2 separate regions of the Homo sapiens genome follow, and region 2 is linked to region 1. Evidence: promoter capture Hi-C in 16 types of primary human blood cells and fetal thymus (Javierre and others, 2016). All regions are on one chromosome and are shown on one strand. Each heading gives the region's core, a stretch centred on a gene start or on the middle of the fragment in contact. The rest is flanking DNA. Distances are from core to core; before and after follow the strand shown. Region 1 holds the start of KIF13A (kinesin family member 13A). Region 2 overlaps TPMT (thiopurine S-methyltransferase).

What was found. The method cuts DNA at HindIII sites, captures the fragments that hold promoters and counts their contacts. A CHiCAGO score of 5 or more calls a contact.
Region 2: a fragment that was not itself captured here is called in contact with the fragment with the promoter of KIF13A in region 1 in 2 of 17 cell types (neutrophils and megakaryocytes); the score reaches 6.5 in neutrophils.

What each region holds. Positions count from the first base shown.
Region 1 is chr6:17,985,308-17,989,441 of GRCh38, forward strand. It overlaps KIF13A (kinesin family member 13A), which reads right to left and starts at 2,328. Exons shown (of 39, transcript NM_022113.6): 1 at 2,102-2,328; 2 at 1,747-1,837. The coding sequence starts at 2,156. RefSeq lists silencers at 1,914-2,033, 2,404-2,903. The HindIII fragment of the contact is 11,131 bases long and covers 1-4,134 here.
Region 2 is chr6:18,142,789-18,146,922 of GRCh38, forward strand. It overlaps TPMT (thiopurine S-methyltransferase), which reads right to left. Exons shown (of 9, transcript NM_000367.5): 4 at 808-940. Among named protein-coding and RNA genes, the nearest start is that of TPMT, 10 kb to the right of the region's middle. RefSeq lists an enhancer at 3,932-4,134. The HindIII fragment of the contact is 3,795 bases long and covers 573-4,134 here.

The DNA of each region.
Region 1 (4,134 bases), core at 1,078-3,577:
GATTAGTAACTAACGTGGTTCAGCCCGAAAAATGATCAACTGATTACTTAGCATTTGGAACCAACTGTCCACAGTTATAGATTGTACCAAATCCCACAAAATCAAATCTGTTTCTCTTCACAAATGACAACACTTCATGTCATTAAACAGTAGCTAACAGTCGCACTGCTTATGGTTAAGAGTGACAAGGAGCAGGTGCCAAGCCAGCAAGGAAAACAAGTAACGGCTACACAACAGGAGCTAAAAAGTATTCTACCTGTTCCCCCAGACTGCTTTCAAGAATCTGACCCAACAGAATTTTTTCCCGAAACAATATGCAGTTTGCGGGGGGGTGGGGGGAGGGGACATTCGTTGGTGATATGGGCATCTAATTTAATCTGTAAATATTTAATGTACTCAATGAGTTTACTTACTATCACCATGAAATATGCTATACTATCTACACTGCTATAAATGCATCTAAAAATACATCCATTACTAGACAACATTCAGTACAATGTACAATAAACACTACATTCAGTGTTAAACACAACATTTTACATATAGCTTAGCTATTTAATATCACCACCAGAATCTGCTAAAGGTAGCAGAATGTTTGCAAACTGGATAAAAACTGCTATGCTCAACACGAAAAGCAAAGAATCCCCAATCTTATCGCCTCATGATTTCTTTCCCCAAATTTGGCAAAACTGAGCTTGAACACCACACATTATAGAATGGAGGCATTGCTTCTCTAAGCAATAATGTCACAAACCCTGCTTCAGAGTCTCTCTTCAGTGAAAATCTCTGAAGAAGGAAATTCACTAAATTGTATTCCATCGATCAACAGGTGATTCGTGGAAACACAAACTCATATTCATTTCCAATGAAAATTAATATTGTAAACTCTCCCGTTTTTTCACATATATATATTTACAAGCTACTGCATTATTATATTGAATGAATTCCAACCGATTTCTTCTCAGAGGCTTACTAGAAAAATGCCAAATATTCAAATTATTTTGGGGCGTTAACCCATACTGTTGCATGGAACAGAACGGAATTAATAAGGATCCAACAGTTACCACTTTTCAAATGCAAATATGTTGCCATCTAGTAAATACAGCCCCTTTTTAAACATCCCTCAGTGTCTATACAGTTCAGGGCCCTACTTTTGTTTCTTTGAAAATCAAAATTCGCGCATTACATTGAGGCATTATCTCAACTCAGCAACAACAACTAAAATAGATACTAACTAGTCCAGCCTGAGTCTACATCGTACAAGACTTTTGCTTTATTTTTTCCTCCCATTTTAGACACACTGTCCCTAAACAATTCTGCCAAAGGAAACAAACCCTGCAGTGATGAAAAGAATCACGGACACTGGGTTCCACGAACAATAAGGTCGTGGGCTGGTCACCTGCCCGCCTCGGGCCTCAGTTTTCCTGTCTGTAAAATGTGGCCGCTGGACGAATCACCTATGGGGTCCCATCCGGCCCTCTCCCTCCCGGGTGCCTCGCAGCCCGCCCGGGCTCAGCTGACTGGTGCTGTGGCCAGGGTGCCCTGCCTGCCGCCGCTCTAGATGGAGGAGAAGGGGGGCGAGGGAGGAGAGGAACTTGGACTTGCAACAGCTTCAAACAGGAGCCGGCGACAAACTTGAAGCCGTCCTCCTAACAATAGGAAAGAGCACTCCCATTTTCCTGGCTCAAACTTGCGGGACCCCGCGAGGCTGGATCCTCCCAGCCGCCCTCTCGGAACCCGCTTTACCTTTCTCCCTGTTTGGTGTTAGAAGGAGGAGGGTGCAGGACCGTTTGATTCCCTTCCATCTCCACCACGCACTTGGTGTTCAGTTCCAGTTCTGAAAGCAGAGAGAAAGGGACGTTGCAAAGTCCAGCATCCGCGCCTCCAGCCCGCCCGCCCGCCAGCCGCGCCGAGCGGGGCTCCGTCCCTGGAGGCGGCCGAGCCTGGAGACGGCGCCCCGGGCACCACGGCCAGCGCGGACGCCGCCTCCGCCCCGGCCCCCCGGCCCCGGCCGCGCTCTCGCCGTCCCGGCCCCGCAGTTTCTAAAGTTGCCCCCGCCCTCAGCCCGAGCAGAAATAAAAAAGAGCGGAAAGCTCCTCACCTCGTCGGTTCATGGGCCGGACCCGGACGGCAACTTTTACCTTGGTATCCGACATGTTGGCTGCGCTCGCCCGGCCGCTCGCCGCGCCCGCTCGGCCTTAGGCGGCCCCTCACGCGCGGCGCCGCCGCCGCTGCAGCCGCGCGCCCCTCGAGCGCGGCCGCCGCCGCTCCGCCGTGAGCTCCGAGAGGCAGCGCCGAGGCGCGCGGGCCATCCCGGGGGAGCGCGACGCGGGGCACGGCCGCGGCCCGGGGAGGGGCGGGCGCGCGGGGCGGGGCGCGGCGGCGGCGGCGGCGGCGGCGGGCGGGGAGGAGGCCTCGCCGGCGGGCCCAGGCGCAGCTCTAGCCGCGCCGCCCCAGCCGAGACCGCAGCGCCGCGGCCCCTCGCGGCTGCCCGGGGCCCCGCGCCGCCATGTTCCGCGCCCGTCACCCGCCGGGGCTCGGGAGAGGCCGGACACGGCCACGCGCGGCGCCCCCTGGAGCGGCGGGACGGCAGTGAGAGGAGCGGCGAGCAGCGCGGCGCTTAGGGGAGGCTGGAGTCCGGGGCGGGACGCATTGTTTCCCCAGGGGACCTCCCAGGCCAAGCCTGCACCGGCGCCCGCGGGGCCCCCCCCCGGACACCGCCGTGAGCTCGAGCCGCCTTCTGGGGCCGCTGCCACCCGGAGCCCCGGGACGGCAGCAAGGACCACGGCTCGCCGCGCTGGGTGCGCAGGCCTTCCCCTCCGAGTCCCGGCACGCCGCCCCCTCTGTCCCACACGGAGCCTGCAGCGGTATTTTAAGATCTCTGTGGTGAACCGAGACTAGAAATGAATCTGTGAATCCACCACCGAAACAGTGTATGTTTGTAAATAGTGCTCTCCCTTCCTTTCCCGGCCTCTCTTGTCTCGGGAGGGATGTCAAGTGGGCTGGGAGGGCCATTAACTCTTACATAAGAATTTAATAGCAATGGATTCTGTCATCCTGCCAAATGCAGACCTCGCTGCCAGGGCGGAACTGGGCGAATCCGATTTATTCTGTTTGGTTCAACAAGTGCTTAAGGGGCGCTCACCGAGTGCCAGGCATTTTGAAGCGTACAGAAGTCAAAAATCCAGAGTTTAGATCCAGGAATCTTTCGATTTTGCTTAAATCTAGAAATCCACTTATTGGAAGATGCATTGAGGTTTTACTGTGTGCAGGGTGCTGTTGAGGACACACAGAAACATGAATAGCATGATGCAGAGGCACACGCTAAGGTGGAAGAGAGGGCGTGGAGACTTATTATGCTAGACAGTGTACGGCAGGTGCTAGGAGAGGGGTCCGTCCGCCTCCAACCGAGGTGATGCTACGCTTGACCCTCGAACAACACGGGTTTGAACTGCACGAGTCCACTTACACGTGGCTTTTTTTCAACCAAAATCTGATTGAAAATACAGTATTCGTGCTCTGGCACAGTGCCTTACGCCTGTAATCCCAACACTTTGGGAGGCCGAGGCGGGAGGATCACTTGAGGCCAGGAGTTCGAGACCAGCCTGGGCAATGTAAAGAAACCCCATCTTGCCAAACATAAAAATTTAAAAAATAGCCGGGCATGGTGGCAGGTGCCTGTAGTCTTAGTTACTGGAGAGGCTGAGGTGGGAGGATCACTTGAGCCTGGAAGGTTGAGGCTGCAGTGAGCCATGTTCGCACCACTGCACTCCAGCCTAGGCAACAAAGCAAGACCCTGTCTCAAAAAAAAAAAGGGAGAAAAAAGAAAAGACAGTATTTGGCAGGTTCAAAACTGAGAGATCCAACTTTTCCTATTTGTGGGTTCTGCAGAGCTGACTGTGGGACTTGAGTATGCATGGTTTTGGATGTTCCTGGAACCAGTCCCCTGTGTACACTGAAGGACAAATACTTCAGCCCCACCTTATTGTAGAGCCAGCTATCTCAGTCTACCTCTGAAGGGCCTGTTGCATCTTTCCTCCTCTCCATTCCTGCTGCTGCAATCTCACTTTACCTGTCCATTCACTTGTTCAACAAATGTGTTCTGAGCGCCCTACTATGTTACAAACACTGTTG
Region 2 (4,134 bases), core at 1,220-3,719, 160 kb after region 1:
TCCAGCCAGTCATCTGAGCCAGAAATGTGAACTCATCGCTCCTTTGGTCCTCATTCGGTCACAGAATCCTGCGGGTCTATCGTAAATGTTGCTTTAATCCATCCTAACCACTCTCTATGCCCCATCACTCTCCTTGCTCAGGGATTCATGATGTCTTTCCTGGACCACTGCCATAGCCTCCTGTCTCTCTGCCAGGAGGCTACTTCCCTTCAAATCACTTCCTATGAGGCCTCATGGGTGATTTAAGTAGTATCTTCCCGAGGTGTCCAAGACCATGGACCCAGGCCCTGCCTGATTCCAGCTCTATCTGTCACCATGCTTCAGGAAGCACCGCCAGGTTGGGCAGGTAACTCCCATCTCTTCCCTTAATACCCTGTGTCTTTACACTTAGCTCCATGCATTACAAATAGCTTTGTCCCTGTTTCTCTTCTCTCCTAAACTAAGAGATTCTTTAGGGGTGGGAGTGAGGGGGGTGTGCTGTGTTATCTTTATCTCTTCAATGTCTTAGGCAGGGTCTGGCACATGATGGGTTCTCAGAAAATGCGTGTTAATAAAAATAAAACAAGCCTAAAAGCTTGAGTACAGAGAGGCTTTGACCTCAGCTTTTATATACATATGTCTATACCTATTTAGGTAGCTATCACCTATATTTTTAAGCCCTTGCTTCTTATACTATATAGTATCTACAGTGAATCTGCGTGCTAAATAGGAACCATCGGACACATGAATGGTATCCTCATAATACTCACACTGAGAAAAACTTTTGTGGGGATATGGATACAATTATTTACCCAAATCAAAACAAACCTTAAATACTTTGGTTCCAGGAATTTCGGTGATTGGTTCTTCTGAGTAAGAAAGATTCTGCTCTGTAAAAAATTCTTGTATCCCAAGTTCACTGATTTCCACACCAACTACACTGTGTCCCCGGTCTGCAAACCTGCATAAAATCATACATTTACACTTAAATTATGTTTTCAAATGACTAAATAGAGGGTTATATTAGAGTAAGCATATATTTTCTTTAATTTAGAGGAATTTATATGAATTCAGGTTCATAGGGTTTCAAAGAACATGCAGGAAAGCAGATCTATATTATTTTCAAACCTTATAAAAATTCTGAAAAACTGACTTATATGAATTCAGGAAACAATAAAAATTTGGAAAATTATATATATCTTTTTTTATGTATGAAACAGTTGGAATGTAATTATAGATATATAACAAAATACTGATTTAATACAAATTGATTTGACTAGAGGAAATGCTTTTCAATTTCTCTAAATCAGCACTGCCCATTAAAATTTTCTGCATTGATGAAAATGTCTATATCTGTCGCTGTCCAATAAAATAGGCATTAGCCACATTGGTTCCTCGTGATTGAGGAACTGAATTTTACATTTTATTTAGTTTACATTTAAATAGCCACATGTGGCTAGTAGCTACTGTACTAAAGTGAACAGGTCTAGAACATTAGCACTCATTTGTATACTAATCTTGTAGTTTCCATTTGCTTAAAATAAACACTATCCAAAAATTTGTATATTTTATCATATACAAATAGCATTGTCCTGGTAATTTTATTTATTTATTTATTTATTTTTGAGACGGAGTCTCACTTTGTTGCCCAGGCTGGATGGAGTGCAATGGCACAATCTCGGCTCACTGCAATCTCCACCTCCTGGGTTCAAGCGATTCTCCTGTCTCAGCTTCCTGAGTAGCTGGGATTACAGGTGCCTGTCACCATGCCTGGCTAATTTTTGTATTTTTAGTAGAGACGGGGTTTCACCATGTTGGCCAGGCTGGTCTCGAGCTCCCGAACTCAGGTGATCCACCTGCCTCAGCCTCCCAAAGTGCTGGGATTACAGGCGTGAGCCACCACACCCGGGCTTTTCCTGGTAATTTTGAGGAAAAGAGGAAAATTTTTTCCTCAAAAAAAATTTTTTTTTTGAGACAGAATCTCACTCTGTCAGCCAGGCTGGAGTACAGTGGCACAATCTCAGCTCACTGCAACCTCCACCTCCCGAGTTCAACCAATTCTCCTGCCTCAGCCTCCAGAGTAGCTGGGATTACAGGTGTGCCCCACCATACCCGGCTAATTTTTGTATTTTTAGTAGAGACGGGGTTTCACCGTGTTGGCCAGGCTGGTCTCGAACTCCTGACCTCAAATGATCTGCCTGCCTCAGCCTCCCAAAGTGCTGGGATTACAGTCCTGGTAAGTTTTATAATGAACAGAATTCAGTCTCAGGATCTTGGACTCAAGAGAAAACAGTACCAGTGGTACAAATATCTAGGCACAGTTATGATTTTATGTCAAGTGAAATAAAAACATAGTTCTGCTATAATGTAACAAGTGCCTTCCTAAAATCACTGCACTATGCTAAATCACGCACTAAAAATCCCCAGGCTGGTGGGGAAAGTGAGGGCACAGCATTTAAAAACTTGGTCAGTGCCACATTAAAAAACAAAAACAGGAACCTAATAATAACAGTTTTATACATGTTAAATGGTTGAGAAATAGATAAATACTACAATATGGCACTTTACGGTGAAAAAGACCTAATGCTCACTAAGGTAGCTGGGGGATGTTGGTGCATTCCATCTATTCATACCTGGTTTAGTTCAACTGGGTGCAGTTTTCTGCTTTTACCTAAGGCTTCTTATAGATGAAATCACACACAAGCAAATGTGAAATTTATTTCATGCTCAAATTTTTCCCTAATATATCAATTGAGTTAGAATTCAGTTTTGAAACAAGTATAGCAGGACTGACTGTACCTTTTATCTACAAAAGAGTACGTACTTTCAATGTGGGCAGAGCATGAACTGTTTAGTTGTAAAATGAAACATATAACTTGTCTTTCATCTTTCGTATTTCTTAGGATATCTGTAAACATACAGGGAGTTTAAAAATTCTCCCTACATTTTTTAAGTTATAAAATGTAAACAAAAACATTATTCAAATTGGCTGTATGTGTTTTTATTTCCCATTCAACAGATGGAAAAATGAAGCATAGCCTACTACAACCTGTAATAAAAACAAAATAAGACCAAGTGTGGTGGCTTATGCCTGTTATCCCAGCATGTTGGGAGGGAGGATCTCTTGAGCCCAGGAGTTCAAGGTTGCAGTGAGCTATGATCATGCCACTGCACTCCACCCTGGGTGACAGAGTGGGACTGTCTCAAAAAACCAAAAACCTAAACCTAAATATCTTAAACATTTTGTTTTAATGCTTTTTGGCCTTAGCTCATGGTCAGTTTTTCTATTCACATCTCATGTCTGTATAGACCTCAATACATAGATCAGTTACATAAATGAAAAATCATCTACTATCATAACTTCTTAACTTCTTACATGTAATTACAGTAGCTCAGTTCATATATATATATACATAAAAATAACTGTATTTACGTATATATACATATATATATATTTTTTGGAGACAGAGTCTCACTCTGTCACCTAGGCTGGAGTGCATGGGCTCATTGCAACCTCCGCCTCCTGGATTCAAGCAATTCTCCTGCTTCAGCTTCTCAGGTAGTTGGGATTACAAGCGTACGCTGCCATGCCTGGCTAATTTTTGTATTTTTAGTAGAGATGGGTTTTCACCATGTTGGCCAGGCTGGTCTCGAACTCCTGACCTCAAGTGATCCGCTCACCTAATTAAAGGTGTGAGCCACCGCACCTGGCCAGTTCTGATATTTTTTGTAATGTCTTTATTACAAATGGCTTTAGACCCCAAATATTCAACAATCACATTTAATTGGCTATTTCATACCATTTTCCTAATGTTGCCTCAGAACCTGTTTGTACTACATTGTTACCATTTATGGTGACATCACATGACAATCTGTTTATAGAGTTAATTTTTTTTGAGGGTAATTTTGAAAGTAACTATCTCTTCTGGCTCAATGAATTGGTTAAAATATATGTCATAATATAGTTTAAATATTCTCAATTTCATGACCACACTTGAATCTTAAAGTCATAGCAGCCCTCTAACAAAGGCTCTCAGCTACAGTTGATTGGTTGCTGGCTGCAAAAATTCTATCATCTCTACTTGAAAATCAACTCCCAAAAAATGCATGCATACTCTGCGTTAGTCACCGATATTTATATTCAGAATAGACCAT